Regions from separate parts of the Homo sapiens genome. Here all the other regions are linked to region 1. The links are contacts of gene promoters, found by promoter capture Hi-C in human tissues and cell types (Jung and others, 2019). All regions are on one chromosome and are shown on one strand. Each heading gives the region's core, a stretch centred on a gene start or on the middle of the fragment in contact. The rest is flanking DNA. Distances are from core to core; before and after follow the strand shown.

Region 1 (4,168 bases), core at 1,299-3,798:
CGTCATCTCTACTAATTTCATAGATGTTAAAAGAATAATAAAGGTTTATGATGAACAACTTTACACCCACAAGTTTGAATATTAGATAAAAAGGACCGATTCCTTGAATGATACAACTACATTTTACAGAAAAGCAAACAGATCACCTAATAGCTCTGTATCCACAAAGAATCAATAATTAATGAAGTCTCAAAAAAATCACCAGATTCAGATGGTTTCACCAGGGAATTTTACCAAACATTTATGGAAGAATTGATATAGGTTCTTTACAATTTCTTACAGAAAATACAAGTAAATATTACTTCTTAACTCATTTTATGAGGCCAGCATTACCGGCATACCAAAATAAATTAAAGACATTACAAAAAAGAAAACTATAGCCAAATATTTCTCATGAACATAGATGCAAAAGTCTTCAACAAAATATTAGCATATTGAATACAATGGTGTATAAAAACAATTATATACCATGCCCAAGTAGAATTTGACCCAAGTATGCAAGACCGGTTCCTTGAAAATCAATTGAAAATCAATGTAACCCATCATATCAACAAGCTAAAGAAAATAAAATCACATGACCGTATCAATAGATGCAGAAAACGAATTTGGCAAAATCCAACATTCATTCATGATAAAAACTCTGCAAACTAGGAATAGAGAGAACTTCCTAATCTTGATAAAGAAGAACTAAAAAAATCCTACTGCTAACATCATATTTAGTGGTAAGAAACTGGATACTTCCCCTAAATTCAGGACAGGACTGTTAAGAGAATGAAAAGACAAGCTTCCACTGGAAGAAAATACCTGCAAAACACGTATCAGATAAAGTACTTCTATCCAAAATACACAAAGAACTCTTAAAACTCAACCATAAGAAAACAACCTTTTTTTTTTAATGGGCAAAAGATGTGAACAAACATCTCACCAAAGAAGATATACAGGTGCATATGAAAAGTTGCTCCACATAATTTTTCAGTAGAAAATTGAAAATTAACAACGATATAGCACTATATGCCTACTAGAATGTCTAAAATTATAGATGATAGACGGATGGATGGATGGATGGACAGATAGATAGATAAAGATAGCCAATATCAAGTGCTGGTGAGGATGAAGGAAAGGGATTCATATTTGCTGACAGTTATAAAAATGCTATAGCCACTCTAGAAAACTGTTTGGTTCTTATAAAGTTAAACAAATTTACCATAAGATCTAGCAATTGCACTCCTAGATATTTAGTCAACTAATTTAAAAAATTTGTCCGTACAAAACGCTGCATGCAAATGTTTATAGAATGTTTATTCACAGTCGCCAAAAACTGGAAACCACGCAAATATTCTCCAGTGGGTGACTAAACAAAATGTGGTACAAATAATGAGACTCCCCTCAACAATAAAAAGGACTATTACTATACACAATAACATGGATGAATCTCCAAGGTATAATGATGAGGGAATAAAGTCAGTTTCAAAATGTTACATATTGCGTAATTCCATGTATACGACACACTCACAAAGACAAAACCGTAGCAATGGAGAACCTATCAGTGGTTACCAAAAGTTAGGGTTGGCGGGGGCGCTGTTATAAAAGGGCAGAACTAGGGAGCTCTTTATTGCGCTAGTGGTTACATGAATCCAAACAAGGGTTCAAGATCACAGGATTATATATCAAATAACCAATTTTACTGAATATCAATTTTAAAAGTCAAATAAATTATTAAACACTATTAAACATATACAATGTTTAAAGTCAAGCAAAAAGTCCTAAACTAAAAGTAAAATAATGATTGTTTAGAAGTACACCAGGATGGTATGGGTCATCTGCAATATAACGTCCTGTTTGGGATAAGGAAGCGTGACTACATCTACAGGGTGACGTGAGAAGGGCCCAGAGCAGCGAGCAGGTCTTGCCATCAGGGAGGGGAACCATCTGAAGGGGTGGCGTGAAAAAGTCTTTAGAGGAAGGCAAAAAATGGGAAAAGGTCAGAGAACCTTTTTGGGAGGTAAAAGGACCAGCTTTGGATTAGGCGTGATGCACAGGCCCCAGCGCAGGGCGTAGAAACTGCAGCCTGGACAGCCTGGGTGGGAGAAAGTTTGGGATGTTTAGGAAGGAAGGGTGCGCCAGCCAGGGGGAAGAAACGAGACAGGTGGCCGCAGATGGCGCGAGTCAGGCAGCAGGAAAAGGCAGGCTGTTTAAGCAGCCTTTTCCTGCAGTCCAGGCGGAGAGCGCAGAAGGAGCACCCCGAGGGGCAAGCATGGGAGAGCCGGAGCGGGCTCGCGGGCGCGCGGGCGCTGTACGTCCCCTCCTCGGCTCGCGGCCGCGAGCACGCGCTCTCCGTGCCCGGCCCCGGAGGGGCGGGGGCGGGGCACAGGCGCGGCGCGCGCACGTCCGCGCGGGGCGGGGGCGGGGCGCGAACGCGACCGGTGACGTCAGAGGAGGGCGCGCGCCCGGAGGCAGCAGGCGGAGCCGGGAGGCGGGCGTTGTGCGCGGCCGCGGGCGGAGCGGAGGGGCGCGAGGGGCGGAGCGGAGCGCGGGAGGAGGCGGGGGAGGAGAGGCCACCGGGACCGCGAGCGGCAGCTGGGGAGGGGGCCGCGGAGCCCGAGCGGGAGCAAAACAGCTGATCTGGTTTTCCTTTAAAGCGAGAGAAAATGGAAGTCGGGTAGCGGCGACTGCGGCGCTGCGGGCTGGCGGAGCGGAGCGGCGCGGCGCGGCAGGTAAGACGGCGCTGGCCGCGGTGCTGCCGGCGGGCGGCGGGGCCGGGCCCGCGGACCAGGCAGGTGCGCTCTCCGGGCGCGGGGCCGGCGCCGTCTCCTTCCCGAGCTCCGTGGCGAGGCAGGTGGGCGTTGAGGCCGGGCGACCGCGGGGCCGGGGCGCGGGGACGCGGGGGGCGCGGGCCCCGGCTGGGCTCGCCGGCGCGTCTGCATTGCGGGCTCCGCTCCGGACCCCGCGGGCTCCCGGGCCACCGGCTCCGGCCCGGCGTGGCGCGCCTCTCTCGGGCAGGGCGCGGCGCTACCGCTGGGTCGGGGCTGCTGCCTCCGCTCAGCCCTTTGGCTGTCCGCACTGGAACGTGATGCCAGGCGTGGGGCGACCGACCCCTCGGTCCGTGCGCGCGCGTCGGGGGTCCCGCGGCTCTTGCAGACGGCCGGGCAGGGCCCGGCCCCGAGCCGCGCGCGAGGCCGCTCGCCGGGCACCGGAGCTGTGACTGCGTGGGTCCCCGCGGCCCGGCGCACCGCCGTCCCGCTCGCTCTGCTGGGTCTCGCTGGACAGCAGGCAAACCATTAAGGCAATTTGGCTGTGAACCCAGAGGCCTTCCCTAGTATCTCCTCACTGGAGGGGAAAAAATTGCATCTGCGGTGCTTTAAGTGCTCCTTTAAATTTGGGAGATGTCAGTGATGTCATCATTAACTAAAACTTTCCTTCATTGGACACAACCGCTCAAGTGTACCCTCCTCCCTCCCGGTGAAGCTATTGCAGCCCTTTGAGAATCTCTGTAATAAAATGGATTTGCCTCTGCTCTGTAAACTCAGCTACCTCACACAAGTGCAAATGACTTTTATTTCTGTCTATTGGCTTGAGAATGTATAGATTTAAGAGTAGCTGAAGGGAAACTTGTGAGACCCCGATCAGGGAAACGCTTCATCCACAGCACAAGGATCCAGGGGAAAGTCATGTATGACATGCACATGGTTACCGCCAGGTGATACCTTTGTAAATGGAAGTGGGCTGTAAGAGGAACAATTTTTAAAAATATGATGAGGCAGATAATGTGTCCAGGAAAAGGTTGACAGCGGGGCCTAAATCTTTACAGGTCTTAATTGCTTCAGGAAAATCTGCAGGTGTCCTTCACCATCCTCCTCCTCCTCCTCCAGGGTGTGCCCGGAGAAGCCTGCCCTGGGCGAAGGCGGGGAGGCAGGTTCACTAGGGTCCTCCCAGCAGCCGTGTGTCCCACCAGCTTCAAAGGCCTCTTCAAGACCCAAAGAGGGTTCACGAGAACAGAGGTAGATCTGCACGGCACACTCAGTTCTGGATAAACATTCCCCACTAAATGGGATCAACACTCCATTATTTTATTGTGAGTGTGCCATTAGTACCAATTCTTATGGGAACAAAACTAAGCAAGTTCCCAAGGCAATCTGAGTATCTACTCAAGCCTATCATATCGAAAGGA
Region 2 (3,959 bases), core at 878-3,377, 230 kb after region 1:
CCTCAGAGGTATTGCAGATTCAGTTCCAGACCACTGCAATAAATATAGCAATAAAGCAAGTCACATGAATTTTTTGGTTTTCTAGTGCATATAGAAATTATGTTGGCTAAGCACAGTGGCTCACACCTGTAGTCCCAGCACTTTGAGAGCCAAGGAGGACGGATAGCTTGAGCCCAGAGTTCCAGACCAGCTTGGGCAGCATGGTGAGACCTCGTCTCTATTGAAAAAAAAAAAAACAAAAACCTACAAAAATCAGCCTGGTTTGGTGGTGCATGCCTGTCGTCCCAGCTACTGGGGAGGCTGAGGTGGGAGGATTGCTTGAGTCGAGGAGACAGAGGTTGCAGTGAGTGGAAATCACGCCACTCTACTCCAGTCTGGGTGACAGAGCAAGACCCTGTCTCAAAAAAAAAAAAAAAAAAAGTTATCTTTATACTATTCTGTAGTCTACTAAGTGTTCAATAGCATTATATCTAAAAAATGTACATAACTTAATTTGAAAAAATACTTTATTGCCAAAAATGCTAACAATCATCTGAGCCTTCAGTGAGTCATAATCTTTTTGCTGGTGGAGGGTCTTGCCTCAATGTTTATGGCTGCTAACTGATCAGGGTGGTGATTGCTGAAGGTTGGGGTGGCTGTGACAATTTCTTAAAATAAGACAATCGTGAAGTTTGATGCATTTAATTGACTCTTCCTCTCATGAAAGATTTCTCTGTAGCATGTGTGATGCTATTTGATAGCATTTTACCCACAGTGGAACTTCTTTCAAAATTGAAGTCAGTCCTCTGAAACCTTGCTGCTGCTTTATCAAATGCATTTTGTAATTTCTAAATCCTTTTTGTCATTTCAGCAGTGTTCACAGCATCTTTACCAGGAGCAGATTCCATCTCAAGAAACCACTTTCCTTGCTCATCCATAAGAAGCAACTCCCCAACTTGAGATTGTAGCAATTTAGTCACATCTTCAGACTCCACTTCTAATTCCAGTTCTCTTCCACCACATCTGCAGTTAATTCTTCCACTGAAGTCTTGGACCCCACAAAGTCATCCATGAGAGTTGGAATCCATTTCTTACAAACTCCTGTTAATGTTGATAATTTGACCACCTCCCATGAATCACAGATGTTCTTATTGACTTCTAGAGTTGTGAATCCTTTCCAGAAGGTTTTCAATGTACTTTGCCCAGATCTATCAGAGGAATCACTATCTATGGCAGTTATAGCCTTATAAAATGTATTTCTTAAGTAATAAGAGTTGCAAGTCAAAATTGCTCCTTGATCCGTGGAGTACAGAATGGATGTTGTATTAGCAGACGTGAAAACATTGATCTTGTACATCTTCATCAGAGCTCTTGGGTAACTAGGTGCATTGTCAAATGAGCAGTAATATTTTGAAAGAAATCTTTCTTTCTGAGCAGCATGTCTCAGCAATGAGCTTAAAATATTCAGTAAACCAAGGTATCAACAGATGTGCTGTGCCCAGGCTTCTTTGTTCCTATAGAGCACAGGAAGAGTAGATTTAGTGTCATTCTTAAGGGCACTAGAACTTTCAGAATGATAAATGAGCATTGGTTTCAACTTAAAGTCACCAGCTACAATTGTCCCTGTCTGTAGAAGCTTTGAAGCCAGGCAGAGACTTATTCTCATCTAGCCTAGATAACATCTTCTTCCAATAGAGGGCTGTGTTGTCTACATTGAACATCTGTTGTATAGTGTAGCCACCTTAATCAGCGATGTTAGCTAGATCTTCTAAGATCTAGAGATCTTGCTGCAGCTTCTCCATCAGCACTTGCCACTTCCCCAGTGCAATAACATGAAACTTTTATGTTATTGAAGATGGCTTTTTTCCTTAAACCTCATGAACCAGCCTCTGCTAGCTTCTAACTTTTCTTCTGTAGCTTCCTCACCTCTCTTAGCCTCCGTAGAATTGAAGAGAGTTAGGGTCTTGCTCTGGATTAGGCTTTGGCTTAAGGGAATATTGTAACTGGTTTGATCTATCCAGACCACAGACCACTGAAACTTTCTCCGTATCGGCAATAAGACTGTTTCACTTTCTTATCATTTGTGTATTCACTGGAGTAGCACTACTAATTTCTTTCAATAATTATTCCTTTGCATTCAAAAGTTAGTTAACTGTTTAGTGTAAGAGGCCTAGCTTTTGGCCCATCTTAGCTTTTAAAATGCCTTCCTCACTAAGCTTAACCATTCCTAGCTTTTGATTTAAAGTGAAACATGAAATTCTTTTTTTTTTCCATTTGAACAACTTGACATTTTAGGGTTGTTAATAGCCTAACTTTAATATGTTGTGTCTCAGGGAATAGGGAGGCCTGAGGAGAGGGAGACAGGAGAATCACTGGTCAGTGGAGCAGTCAGAACACACACAACGTTTATTAAGTTCATCGGTATGTGTGGGTGTGGTTCGTGGTGCCCCAGAACCAGAACTGTTGTAATTACAACAGTAACATCAAAGATCACTGAGCACAGATCACTATAACAGATATAATCCTAATGGAAAAGTTTGAAATACTGTGAGAATTCCCAAAATGTGACACAGAGATGCACAGTGAGTGCATGCTGTTTGAAAAATGATGCCAATAAACTTGCTCAGCACAGGGTTGCCACAAACCTTTAATTTGTAAAAAGAAAATGCAGTATCTTCAAAGGGCAATACAGTAAAGCACAGTAAAATGAGGTGTGTCTGTATGGACACGTGTCAGCTTCTCAAATTATAAACTTAAATATGTGCATTTTATTTGGTGTCAATTGTATAAAGCGATTAAATTTTTAAAAGGACTGATGCAGACAGCACCTGGCGTCTGGGATAAGGTGTATCATTTTCCTCTTTATGGCAGGAACTGCCACGCCCCCTGTTTTCATGCTGCCGGAGACCAGCTGGCAAGTGGGGGGCAGTGGCTCTCCTTGCCAATCCTGGGCATGCAGGTGACAGTGCAGGGAGAGTGCCCTTCCCACATGGCCCCCGTTTGTAGCCACAGCTGTCCCTACAAAAACTGGGCAGCCTGAAGTGAATTAACAAGACAGTTTTCAGATCTTCACTTGCTTGTGGGTTTCACATGTCACATTTAACCTCCAGTTACATCGACTTTTTCAAACCCCACTTAGGCATCTTAGAATTTTATCATTTGCATTCTTTTATGTTGAATAAGAGAGTTGTAGTACATGCCCCACTGTCTGCTTTCTAAAACATCCAGGTTGGAGTTAGCGCCTTCATACACCCTCCCTGGAAGCACCAGGTGCCATCCTCAGTGCAGCGGCAAGGCAGTGTCGGGGCTCTCTGCCCCCAGGTCTCTCCCCGCCTGGTTCCATTGGCTGCTGGGAAGGATGCTTGGATGGGAGGTCTTTGTGTTTTCAGGCAGGAAATATTATTTGCTCCGCTAGCCCTAGGTCTTACTAATTTACTGTGCAATCTTCAACAAGTTTCTTGATCTTCTTGCTCTGTTTTCTCATCTGTAAAATTGAGGGCAGTGAGCAAGGTGACCTGTAGGTCCCAGGAGCACCAAGGTAGTGCCGTATTTAGTACCAGGTTTTCCTAAGAGGAAATGGGGGCTACTTGGGGTCAAAACAAAGGAGAGTCTTTCTAGATAGGGAAGGACTAGCAGTGGGTCAAAACTTGCCAAGAAGGACTATGAATGGAGCTTTGCTTGGGGTTTAAAAGCTTCAGTCACAGACTTGGAGGGGCTCAAACCCCTTGCTTTAGAAGGCAGAAACCAAGAACCACTAAGGACCTAGGACTTGCTGATGGTGTCTTTGGAGTTTAAGGTGGAACTGAAGTTAGAGCTGATTTCCTTCCTGTCACATCCAGTAAGACTGGGAATGGTTGGGTGCCAGAGGCAGGTTCCAGAAGGTGGGAAGAGTCCTGTCTGCGTCCCCAGGGTCCCAACCTTGAGGAAAGCTTGCTGTCCTTCTGTCCTGCTTCACACTCCCTTTGGTTAAAGGTTTCAGT
Region 3 (4,203 bases), core at 1,235-3,734, 130 kb after region 1:
GGATGCAGGCAACTGATCTCCCTCCCTGGACCTCTTTTGTAGATTCAGCGCTGATGGTGGTGGCTGGAGTTCCTTCTTCTCTTCCATTCTGACTTATTGCATGCTCAGGTCTCCATCCTCAGCCAAATTCTTCACCTCTCCTCTTTACACTTAGGATGCCAGTTATAAAGATGGGAGATAAGGGATCCACAGAGGTCCTCATCTGGCCCCATGGAATCCTCATCATTAGCTCCAGGCCCCCTGCCATTCTCCCTCCTCCCTCTCTCCCCATCCCCCCATGCCCAAGTTCTTCTGTCTTTGCTGTCTCCTATTTAACTAATTATTCCCTCCTGGAAATTCTCTGCCTTGTTTTCTCTGGCAAACTGTTAACCTTTTACAAAAATGCTCTCAATTAATTTTTTCGCAAAAATAGTGACATTTTTACAGCCAGTGAAACAATGAAAAGAAGCTAAAAAATGTTAATAATACCACCCAATTTATACTTCCTTGAGCTAACAGATACTATGTACAAACTACCAGCTACACCTATACATTTATGAACATAAATATGCACTTTTATAAATAGATACTTTTTTACAACCAGTGACTGTCCATGATTCCCTACAATACATATGATTCTGAAGCTTCCCTTCCTCAGGAAACTGTACAGCATGGATGTCCTTCCAGATGAGCAAATCCAGTCTAATTTCTTTCTCGAATGCTGTGTGATAGTCCCGTATGAACACATTCAGTCTATCCAGTTATTTCCTGCTGAGAAGCATGCTGACTTTCTCCAGTTTCTGCCACTTCAAAAATTCTTTATATCATTGAACACTTTCTAATATACTCCTGCTCTTATTTCTGTAAGATATATTTCCAAAAATGGGACCACTGAGTCAACAAGTTCTTAGATATTGAACTTGAATCGCCGTTTCCAGATTACTTTCCAAAAAGGGCATAGAAGTTCACATCTTCCCCCAAAATGCAAGTGCATGCAGTGCTCAATAAATCCCTCTGACCCTGGATGTCATCCCCAGGGTTTTTCCAGTTTGTGTGAAAATGATATGGCATTGGCAGTTTGCGTCGTTTTTTCATGACTACCTTTTTTGATGCATTACTGGCCATCTTGATTCCATTTCTGTAAACCGCTTGTTCGTGTCTTTTGCTGGAGTTTTTGTGGGGTTGTCTGTCTCTATTTCAATAGTGGATAGCAGTTCTTTGTTTAGAGGGCTGTTAGTCCCTTGCCTGTGTATGTGTTTCAACGATTTTTCTAAGTATATTAATGTCTTTTTATATTGTTTATTTTGCCATATTAAGAAACATTATCTGGTTAAATATTTCTATTATTTTTATTTATGATTTCTACCTATCCTACATTGCTTAAGAAGGTCTTCATGCCATCTGTAATTCCAGCACTTTGGGAGGCAGAGGCAGGCATGTTGCCTGAGCCCAGGAGTTCAAGACCAGCCTGGGCAACACAGTGAAACCCTGCCTCTACTAAAAATACAAAAATTAGCTGGGCATGGTGGTGTGTGCTTGTAGTCCTAGCTACTTGGGAGGCTGAGGCAGGAGAATCACTTGAACCTGGGAGGTGGAGGTTGTAGTGAGCCAAGATTGTGCCACTATACTCCAGCCTGGCAACAGAGCGAGACTCCGTCCCCCCGCCCCCCCAAAAAAAAGAAGGTCTTAAGCCAAAGTCATACAAATACAAAGTCATACAAATATTTGAATATATTTTCTTTTAATATTTTTACGGTTATTTTATTTTACATTTATATTTTAAATTTATCCAAAACTTATTTGTGTTGAGGGTGGGAGGATATAGATTTGTTTTCTGCCAGCTCTGTCTGTTAAATAAACTACTCTTCCCTGGGGACGGAAATGGCACCTGGAACATACATTGATCTCATAGTGCATTGGTCGGCACAGCTTCAGTGTGAGGCGTACACTCCCTCCCTGTCATTCTTTTCTACAGTTTTCTTGTTTGAGTTTGGATGTATGTTAATATATCTGAAGAGCTTAAGACAGCACCTCTTTTTTGTTTTCTGCTAAATTTATTTTGTTTTACTTACATCTTTAAACATTCAACTATGGAAAATATTAAACATCTATAAATATATACAGAGTAATATGCTGAGTCCCATGTACCCATCACCCAGCTTCTGTAATTATCAAGCTGTGGCTAATCTTTTTTTTGGGGGGGTGGAGTTACCCTCACCCATTGCTAGTGCAACTACAAGTGTAAACGTGTTCACTGCTTTTATCATTATTACTACTAATCTTATTTTTATAACTTTTAAGTTCAGGGGCACATGTTTGTTACAAAGGTAAACTTGTGTTGTGGGGGTTTGTTGTACAGATTATTTCATCTCCCAGGTATTAAGCCTAGTACCCATTAGTTATTTTTCCTGATCCTCTCCCTCCTCCCACCCTCTGCCCTCCAGTAGGCCCCAGTGTGTGTTGTTCCCCTCTATGTGTCCATGTATTCTCATCATTTAGCTCCCACTTATAAGTGAGAACATGTGGTATTTGATTTTCTTTTCCTGCGTTAGTTTGTTAAGGATAATGGCCTCCAGCTCCATCCATGTCCCTGCAAAAGACATGATCTCATTCTTTTTTATGGTTGCATAGTATTCCATGATGTTTATGTACCACATTTTGTTTATCCAGCCTGTTATTGATGAGCATTTAGGTTGATTCCATGTCTTTGCTGTTGTAAATAGTGCTTTAATGAACATATAGGTGCATGTGCCTTTACAATAGAATGATTTATAGTGCTTTGGGTATATACCCAGTAATGGGGTTGCTGGGTTGAATGATATTTCTATGTTTAGGTCTTTGAGAAATCACCACACTATCTTCCACAATGGTTGAACTAATTCACACTCCTACCAGCAATGTATAAATGTTCCTTTTTCTCCACAACCTTGCCAACATCTGTTATTTTTTGACTTTTTTTTTTTTTTTGAGACAGAGTTTCACTCTGTTGCCCAGGCTGTAGTACAGTGGCGCAATCTCAATCTTGGCTCACTGCAACCTCTGCCTCCCAGGTTCTAGCAATTCCCCTGCATCAGCCTCCCGAGTAGCTGGGATTACAGGCGTGTGCCACCACACCCAACTAATTTTTTTGTATTTTTAGTAGAGATGGGGTTTCCCCATGTTGGCCAGGCTGGTCTTGAACCCCTGACCTCAGGTGATCCACCCCCGCCTTGGCCTCCCCAAGTGCTAGGATTACAGGCATGAGCCACCATGCCCTGCCATTTTTTGACTTTTTAATAAAAGCCATTCTGACTGGTGTGAGATGGTATCTCATTGTGGTTTTGATTTGCATGTCTTTAATGATCAGTGATATTGAACTTTTATTCATATGATTGTTGACTACATGTATGTCTTCTTTTGAGAAGTGTCTGTTCATGTCCTTTGCCCACTTTTTAGTGGGGTTTTTTTCTTGTAAATTTGTTTGAGTTCCTTATAGATACTGGATATTACACCTTTGTTAGATGCACAGTTTGCCGAAATTTTCTCCCATCCTGTAGGTTGTCTGTTTACTCTGTTGGTGTTTCTTTTGCTGTGCAGAAGCTCTTTAATTAGATCCCATTTGTCAATTTTTGCTTTTGTTGCAATTGCTTTTGGCATCTTCATCATGAAATCTCTGCCTGTACCTATGTCCAGGATGGTATTGCCTAGGTTATCTTCCAGAGCTTTTATAGTTTTGGGTTTTACATTTAAGTCTTTAATCCATCTTGAGTTGATTTTTGTATATGGTGGAAGGAAGGGGTTCAGTTTCAATCTTCCATACATGGCTAGCCAGTTATCCCAGCACCACTTATTAAATAGAGAGTCTTTTACACGTTCCTTGTTTTTGTCAGGTTTGTCAAAGATTAAATGGTTGAAGGTGTGCGGTCTTATTTCTGGTCTCTCTATTGTGTACCATTGGTCTACGTATCTGTTTTTGTACCAGTACCATGCTGTTTTGGCTACCGTAGCCCTGTAATATAGTTTGAAGTTAGGTAGCATGATGCCTCCAGCTTTGTTCTTTTTGCTTATGATTATCTTGGCTATTCAGGCTCTTTTTTGGTTCCATATGAAATTTAAGATACTTTTTTCTAGTTCTATGAAGAATCTCAATGGTAGTTTAATAGGAATAGCATTGAATTTATAAATTGCTTTGGGCAGTATGGCCACTTCAATCATATTGATTCTTCCTATCCATGAGCATGAAAT
Region 4 (4,237 bases), core at 893-3,392, 210 kb after region 1:
GGAAGGCAAGGGTGGTCTCAGGGTCCCTGTTGAGAGTTCATTCATTGGCTCATAATTAATGTATATTGAGCATGTACTATGGGCCAGTACATTTTGTGCATGAGTTCCTTAAAATTTCATAATAACTGTGAGATACAATTATTATTATAATTGTATTGATGAGGAAACTGAGGCACAGAGAGGCGATATAACATGCCCAAGGTCACACAAAGTGGTGGAACCATTTTGGCCCCAGAGACTGATTCCAGGGCCAACGCTCTGTCCCCACACGGCACTGCCCCTCCTAAGGCAGTCACCATGCATTGATGGGACACATTACTCTCCCTGGGGTGGCTGATGAGACCTTCAGAGACATTCTGTCCAAGGGCTAGGATGCACTGAGGAGAACAGGAATGCAGGGCCAGGGCACGGCCACCCAGAGCCTCATGCTGTTCAAAGCGGCTGAGTGAGTGCTTTAGACCACACAAGGCAGGTTGAGAGGCACAGTGCATGCTTGGGAGGATGGCACGGAGCAGTGGGTGAGGATGGCCCAGGTAGCTGGGGTCAAATGTCCCCACCAGCCCAGTCCCTCCCATATCATCATGGGACATGAATGTGAGGGTGTGGTGATGGTGGCAGTGTGAGGTTTAAGAAATACATCTGGAAAGCTGGGTGTGGTGGCTCACGCCTGCAATCCCAGCACTCTGGGAGGCTGAGGTGAGCGGATCACAAGGTCAGGAGATCGAGACCATCCTAGCTAACATGGTGAAACCCTGTCTCTACTAAAAATACAAAAAAAAAATTAGCTGGGCATGGTGGTGGGCGCCTGTACTCCCAGCTACTCAGGAGGCTGAGGCAAGGAGGATGGCATGAACCCGGGAGGCGGAGCTTCCAGTGAGCCGAGATCGCGCCACTGCACTCCAGCCTGGGCGACAGAGCAAGACTCTGTCTCAAAAAAAAAAAGAAAAAGGAAAAGGAAAAAACAGCTCTGTGCTGTGCAAGTAATCCTCACTGAAATAGATGTGCTTGCTAAAACGAGGAAAGCTGAGACAGCCCCTGGCCAGGCCCGGGCATGGGAGTTGCTGGTCAGCTGGTAAGCGGGGACCTGTAGGGCCCAGGAAGACAGAGTACATGCCTCAGGCAATTGGCCAAGGCCAAGATCCAGCCTCCTGTGACAAAAAGCCAAGCCTTCGGCCTCAGTCTGAGAGTAAGGAGATCACATGCTCTTGTTCTCTGATCTGTCCCCCAGGTGGCAGTGACGAAAGAAGAGACTCTCCCGGCCGAGGCCCCAGTGCATGGAGAGAAGGAAGAAATCAATTTCCTAATTGGTACCATATACATCAGGTCAAATAATTTTCTTCTTTTCTGGCCGCATCAACTAAAAATTGTACCCAATAGGAGCTGTGTGCAAGACGGGGTGGTCACAGTGAATGTCTCTGAGGGTACAGACCTCCCTGCCTGAGACCCTCAGTCCTCAGGGTCTTGCACGTTAGGTGAGCTCATTTCCTGCATTCCTACAGAAAATCAGGAGGGCTCAGAGAGGTGAAGCCCATGTCACAGCTGGACAGGGGCAGGGCCAGGGTCAAATCAGGCTATGTGCCTGGCTCTAAAGCATGGGCCACTGACACAGGACCTACTCCACCAAGCAGCACCCATCCCAGTGGGTTACTGTGAAAGAAAGAACAGAGGACAGTCATCAATAGCATGGGATTCAAACTCACCCCACAATATGTAAAATTAATTACATACTTCCTAGCATAAAATTTTCCATTGCCTGTAATGGGGTCTGCAAGCTTTTTCCATAAAGTTCCAGGAAGTACATCTTTTCAATTTTGTGGACCTTAAGGGTCTCTGTTTTAACTACTCAACTCAGCCAGGTGCAAAAGCAGCCACAGACGCTATGCAAATGAGTGGGTATGGCTGTGTTCCCATAAAACTTCATTTACAAAAATGGGTGGCAGACCACATGTGGCCCATGGTCTATAACTTGCAGACCTCTTATCTACACAAACACAAGGATGCATTTGCACTCCACCGGCAAAGATTGAGCACCCACTGGGGCCCCAGCACCATTCACTAGTGTAAGTTACTCTCACTTGTAATGTCACAGTTGCTTTTCCCCAGCAGTCAGCTGCTACAGTCAGCCTGGGTCAAGCTGCTGTACATCCATTCTATTTCTCTGGCTGGGATCATGCTGCCTGGGAAATCTGACATTCTTAAGAATGTTGTTGGATTGATGGCAGCTCTTAGAGGGATGGTAGATAGTTCAGTAGCCATCTTCAGCAAGTGTGGTATTTCCGTCAACTGTGGATTAACCTTGGCTATTAGTCTTTCCTAATAGCCAAGTAAGGGGTGAGAGCTGAGGGGGTAGGATGGCACACTGATAAAGGCATAATTGGAATAGAGTGGGTAACATTCATCACATTGTGGAAGTATTACAAGTCTATACAATTCGGAAGAGGATTAGAAATCTAGCAACTCCAACTGAATTTTTCTAGGTATACTTAGGTGTTTGAAATTTTAAAATAGTCTTTTTTCCTCATCAGTTATTGGAATTAATAAAATGTAAGTTCAGGAGTGCTGGAGATAGTGATGACCCCTTGCCTTAGTCTATCTGGGCTGCTATGTCAAAATACAATAGCTTGGGAGGCTTATGAACAACAGAAATGTATTCCACACAGTACTAAAGGCTGGGAAGTCTAAGATCAGGGAACCAGCAGATTTGGTGTCTAGTAAGGGCCCATTTCCTGCTTCATAGATGGCACTGTCTTTCTCCATCACCTTGGAGATTAGATATCAACATATGAATTTTGGGAGGGAACACAAACATTTGGCTCATAATACCCCTTCTCTCACATGGCATGTACACAGGGATGAAATTTTAGTTAGCATTCTATAATATAATGTCTTGCATGAAGAATCAGGCAGTTGGACCAAACCAATTCTAAAAAATATGACAGCAGGTGGAAATGGCTCCACCCTCGAGGGTTCTCTCGCTCAGGTCTCTGCATGTAGTTGTCACTTGCAGCTCCATTTCCATCACGTGGTAAAATGCCCTTTCTCTTCTTTCCTGCAGATGGATGGTTTCTAGTGTGCTTCCAAACCCCACCTCGGCTGAGTGTTGGGCAGCACTTCTACATGATCCTATGACTCTTGATATGGACGCAGTCCTGTCAGACTTTGTTCGGTCCACGGGGGCAGAACCTGGTCTGGCCAGAGACCTGCTGGAAGGTAAGCCCACCTCCTTGTTCCCCACACCACCATTCTGGGCATAACCACCTTCCAAATAAGAAGATTTCCAATACCTGATGACAGTGGTACTTGAGCACTAAGTGGGCTTTGCTTTGTGTTACATCTTACCGATATTAAGTCAAAATTTTATCACTAATTATTATATTTAAGAAAATATGTTCAATGGAGCAGAAATTATAAAACATTCAAGAAAATACTTTTGTGGTAGGCCTTAGTTTCATATCTCTGTGTTAGCGGAGACGAAAATACTCTAGGCCAGGGTTTTTGGTGGAAAAAGCACCTACTATCCAGGAAAGCCACTGGGAGTAATTCACAAGCAAGAAGACAGCCTTCATCCTCCAGCTTTTCACGTAGATACCATTTGCTGCATGAGAAATTGCATCCTCCGTATGTATGATGTTTTCAGATATGTATTCAGCCATAACCATAGTGAACTAAAATGAAAGTGTAGTTTCTATGTCTCTAAAATGGATTTACCTTTCTTTTTTTTTTCTGATGGCGGCAGTGGTATGTAAAGGTGGGAGGGACCAGTTACAACTTCTCAGGACAGTCAGCTGTGTGAGAGGAGAGAACTTTGTAATGTTTACTCTTTACTTCAAATGTATAAACTGCAATTTGTGGAGTTAGTAAATACTTGGTCAAGAATTGTAAGTCACAATGATTCTTTAAGTCACTTAGGGAAAATAAGAATTATTGTACATTTGCAGAAGTGGAGAGAACTATTCAATCATATTGAAAATTAAGAACCACCTACTGGAGGATTATCAAAAAATGGCAATGGCAAAAGCATAGTTTTTAAATTTTCCCCAACCTATTAGAATTTCAAACCAACTCCAAGTTTAGAATAAAATATGCTGAGAGTTTTTGCAATCTATGGAAATCAAAATATGATTCTCCCTTCCTGCTATTTATATTATATAATGTCTCCCTGTCAGTTTCCATTATTTTCATTAAGTGGGCAGCAGAGTGGAGAAGCAGGCTTGGAATAAGGTCGGCAGTGAAATCC
Region 5 (4,249 bases), core at 518-3,017, 160 kb after region 1:
AATCCATATGTAATATATTAATCAATATTACATATAATACATAATATGTAGTATGTATTATATAATGTATATAAATATATAAAAATATATTTGTGTATTTTATATATAATACATGTGTATTATGTTATATGTATTTTATATACTATTATATATAAAATATGTTTAAATAATATAATTGTAAATTATTTTATATATATAAAAAACACATATTTCTCATGCTATTATCTGTTTCTTTGGGTTTCTGCCAAAAAATCGTTTTTATATTTATATTATAAATTATAAACATTTTAATATGTATATATTCGTTTTTATAGTTTTTATAACTATCTAACTTCCTTACAAACCAGCATGAGCCACAGCTCTCTCTATTTGCGTCTCACTGCACCACTGCACTGTGGGCAGCACCCGTTCTTATTGTACCCTCAGAACAGCGCACAGCCTAGCACCTGTAGGAAGGACTCGATAGAATTTTCTTGAATGGAAATAGCAGTGTACCCTTCAAGAAAGGGTCACTTTGGAGTTAGGAAAAGGATGAAATGCTCAGAGATAAAGCAGAGGAATGTGTTGAATGGCCAGTTGACTTTATAATTTTCATTTATTTCTTCAACTTGTTTTCACTGAGTGGCTGCAGCATCCCCTGAACTGTGTACTAAGGTCCCAAGGGTAGAAAAGACAAAACAAGCAAGTTCCCAGAACTTAAATTCTCCAGGGAACAGAATGGCATATATGACTGGCTGGATGGATCAATGAATGGACAGATGATGTATGTAGTGTTATTACAGACAATGGTAGTGCTACAAAAGAAGTGATTGGTACTGCAGTGAAATAATGGGGAATGTAGTTCAGCAAGGAAGTCAGAGAAGGCTTCTTAGCAGTGGTGAAATTGAAGCAGACACTTGAACTAAAAGGAGGGGGAAGGGAAGCACTGTGGAAGCTCTTCCAGGTGAAGTCAGTCCCAGGGCACAGAGGCCAAGGAAGCAGCAGGCTGTGTGTGGGGCACACAGAAGGCTCAGCCTGCAGTGCTGGTTCTGGACAGCCAGGCGCCATCTGAAGCTGCAGAGGTGGAACAGCGAAGTGAGGCAGGACAGTCGAAGGCTTGGAAAGAAGTTTGGTCTCACTCCAGTGCAGTGGGAAGCTATTGTTGGGTTTCAAGCAAGGTAGGATGTGACATAATTTACATCTTTTGTTTTGTTTTGTTTTTTTGAGACAGAGTCTCACTGTTGCCCAGTCTGGAGTGCAGTGGTGCGCTCAGCTCACTTCAACCTCAGCCTCCCAGGTTCAAGCAATTCTCCTACCTCAGCACCCTAGGTAGCAGGGACTACAGGTGCCCACCACCACACCCGGCTAATTTTTGTATTTTTAGTAGAGACGGGGTTTCACCATGTTGGCCAGCCTGGTCTGAAACTCCTGAACTCAGGTGATCCGCCTGCCTCGGCCTCCCAAAGTGCTGGGATTATAGGCGTGAGCCACCACGCCTGGCCAATTTACATCTTTTAAAGATTCTTGTGGCTGTGTTGAGAAGAAATTGGAGAAAGGGGCAGACTGTGGTTTGCTCATGTTAGTAAAAATACTTAAACTAAATGAACTGATCAATAGCACACCAGCAAATGTCCAGCTGAATGCCAGTAATGCTGTTTTTCAAAAATGTGTGCTGACAGAATTTGGAAAAGTCCTTCACAAGCTTATTTATTAGCTTTGCATAAGGGCTGTTTTATGGCCCGTAGATTTTTGCGGCTCATTGTTTTTATTGAAGAATAATGTACATACAGAAAAATGCACATCAAATGTACAACTTCATGAATTATAAAAAAATGTAAATATGCCTTTTTATTAAATAATCACTGCCCAGCTCAAAAACTAGAACATGAGATGCAGGCATCTGCCCCCTTGAGCCTTCTCCCTATTCTTTCTCCTTTATTCAGTCTTTCCATTCTCCTGACCTCTCACCTGCAGTTTTGCCTATTTTTAAACTCAGTGTGATGAATGGAATGAAATAATGTTTGCTGTGTGTACCACCAGTTCATTCATTCATACTACGCTATTCATGTACTATTTGTCCGTGTGTGAGTATACTGTAGTTTATCCATATATTCCAATTGTCCAGTGGATCCATTGGTTATCATTTGGGCTGCTTCTAGTTCTTAGTCCTATGGCGATACTTCCTGTATTTTTTGGTGCACAGGTGTACACATTTTGGTTGTGTAGGTACCGAGTGCTGAAAGTACTGGCTTACAGGGGATGTGTAGGATGAGCTGTGGTAGATTCTGCCAAGCGGTTTTTCCAAGTTGCCTTACTAATTACACTCACACCAGCTCCGTGGGAGGGCCCTGGTTGCGTCACATCTTTGCCAACACTCGGTATTTTCAATTTTTGTAATTTTAGACATTCTGGTGGGTATCTAATTTTCATTTTCATTTAATTTCACTGATGACTAATAAGGTTGAGCAACTTTTCATTGATTTTTGGCCATTCAGATGTCATCTTGTGAAGTGTATGTACAAGTATATTTCCATTTTGCTATTGAATTGACTGTTTATTTCTTATTAACTTCTGAAGTGTTTATTCAGGGTACCAGTCCTTTACTGAGTCTATGGATTGCAATGATGTTTTCTCTCTGTGTAGGTTGCTTTTCACCTTCTCTAGGTTGTTTGCTAGTGCAGAGAAGTTCTTAATGTATCTACTTTATCTGTTAGGGTTTTTTATTGTTGTCGTTATTGAGACAGAGTCTCTCCCTGTTGTCCTGGCTGGAGTGTAGTGGCACGATCTCAGCTCATTGCAACCTCTGCCTCCTGGGTTTAAGCGATTCTTCTGCCTCAGCCTCCCGAGTAGCTGGGACTACAGGCGCCCACCACCACACTCGGCTAATTTTTGTATTTTTAGATGAGACAAGGTTTCACCATGTTGCCCAAGCTTGTCTCAAACTCCCCACCTTAAGTGATCTGCTCGCCCCAGCCTCCCAAAGTGCTGGGATCACAGGTGTGAGCCACCGTGCCCAGCGTACTTTACCATTTCAATAGTAGTTTTGGCATCTTGTTTCAGAACTCTCTGCCCATCCCAAGTTCATGCAGATGCTCCTCCATGTTGCTTTCTAGAGGATTTATTGTTTTACCCTCTACATTCAGAAACGCCATCAACTTGGAGTTGATTTTCATGTATACTGTGAAGTAAGAAGACAGATTTTCTCATATGGCTTTCCCATGGACTCAGCACATTTACTGTGGACATAAATACTCTCTCAAATACTCCACAATGTCATTTTTGTCAAATATGACCTCTATAAAGCCACATGCAACAGAATGTCAGTATTGAAGTTTGACAGCAATATGGAAGTGTAACAGATGACACATCTAAAATGAGATGCCAGGCCAGAAGCCCCAGTTAGGAAGGAATGAGCTAGGATCATTTCCCTCATTTTTGAACACCTTGAACTGATCAAGAATATAAAGAAGGAATCAGATGTAGGGAGGAGAAAGGATTCTGTGAAGAGAAATTTTTGAAAAAGCTGTTAGAATGCCACTGTCAACTCAATGTCCTTCTGTTTCTGGGGCTTGGGGAAGGTGACCTACCCCTCACCTGGAGCCTTTAGGCTGAGGATCAAGAGAGTGTTGAAGATAAAGGTGCCAATGCTTGGATCTGGGCATCTCATGAGTGAGGAAAGGGACCAGGATGCATTCCTTACGGTTGTCAGAGTGCGTGAGGACCATTATGGCCCCCGGATGGGCCGTGCCTGTGGGAGCTGGCAGGGGTGGTGTTGGGCCCTGTCACTGGGGCAGCGTGGAAGGAGAGAGGGACCCGAGTAGCAAGAAGCTAGAGGAGGACTTCAGATGCCTAGTACGCTGACACTGCAGAAAGTGACTGTTAAGAGGAGGCGTGCAGCTGCCTGCGGTAGGAATGCTGCACGTGAGTGACCCCACCGTGGAAATCTCCAAAGAGGCTCCCAGGAGAGCAGCTGAGCCTCCTCCGGTGGCCGGACCCCAAGCCCGAGACAGGACATGAAGCAGTCCCTTCAGTCCAAAATGCTCCTTCCCCCACCTCCACACCACTACCCCAGAGCAGTTAGCAGAAGACAGATGCCAGGCACAGCACCTTCCCCAGGAAGGACCCTTTGGAATTCTCTCAACTAAATGCATTTTAAAGGGGCCAGAAAGAGATTTAAAACAATAAGTAAATAAGTTGCATTTTGATTACATCCCCAAAGTCCTGCTCTTTCAGTTTTCCTTTGAGCAGTTAACTACTGACCCTCTGCACC

The links. Contacts are between HindIII fragments. The study calls those that stand out against the background at their distance.
Region 2: a contact is called between a fragment that was not itself captured here and the fragment with the promoter of OTUD7A in region 1, in 2 of the 25 tissues and cell types used here (dorsolateral prefrontal cortex and lymphoblastoid cells).
Region 3: a fragment that was not itself captured here is called in contact with the fragment with the promoter of OTUD7A in region 1 in 1 of the 25 tissues and cell types used here (dorsolateral prefrontal cortex).
Region 4: a fragment that was not itself captured here is called in contact with the fragment with the promoter of OTUD7A in region 1 in 1 of the 25 tissues and cell types used here (dorsolateral prefrontal cortex).
Region 5: a fragment that was not itself captured here is called in contact with the fragment with the promoter of OTUD7A in region 1 in 2 of the 25 tissues and cell types used here (dorsolateral prefrontal cortex and hippocampus).

The regions. Positions count from the first base shown.
Region 1 is chr15:31,869,053-31,873,220 of GRCh38, reverse strand. It overlaps OTUD7A (OTU deubiquitinase 7A), which reads left to right and starts at 2,548. Exons shown (of 13, transcript NM_001382637.1): 1 at 2,548-2,714. RefSeq lists a silencer at 2,516-2,585. The HindIII fragment of the contact is 13,679 bases long and covers 1-4,168 here.
Region 2 is chr15:31,634,840-31,638,798 of GRCh38, reverse strand. The region is part of intron 3 of OTUD7A (OTU deubiquitinase 7A); the gene reads left to right. Among named protein-coding and RNA genes, the nearest start is that of OTUD7A, 230 kb to the left of the region's middle. The HindIII fragment of the contact is 3,326 bases long and covers 465-3,790 here.
Region 3 is chr15:31,734,277-31,738,479 of GRCh38, reverse strand. All of the region lies in intron 1 of OTUD7A (OTU deubiquitinase 7A), which reads left to right. Among named protein-coding and RNA genes, the nearest start is that of OTUD7A, 130 kb to the left of the region's middle. The HindIII fragment of the contact is 4,666 bases long and covers 152-4,203 here.
Region 4 is chr15:31,654,069-31,658,305 of GRCh38, reverse strand. It overlaps OTUD7A (OTU deubiquitinase 7A), which reads left to right. Exons shown (of 13, transcript NM_001382637.1): 2 at 1,229-1,323; 3 at 3,056-3,210. The coding sequence starts at 3,060. Among named protein-coding and RNA genes, the nearest start is that of OTUD7A, 210 kb to the left of the region's middle. The HindIII fragment of the contact is 4,743 bases long and covers 1-4,237 here.
Region 5 is chr15:31,712,086-31,716,334 of GRCh38, reverse strand. The region is part of intron 1 of OTUD7A (OTU deubiquitinase 7A); the gene reads left to right. Among named protein-coding and RNA genes, the nearest start is that of OTUD7A, 160 kb to the left of the region's middle. The HindIII fragment of the contact is 4,221 bases long and covers 1-3,877 here.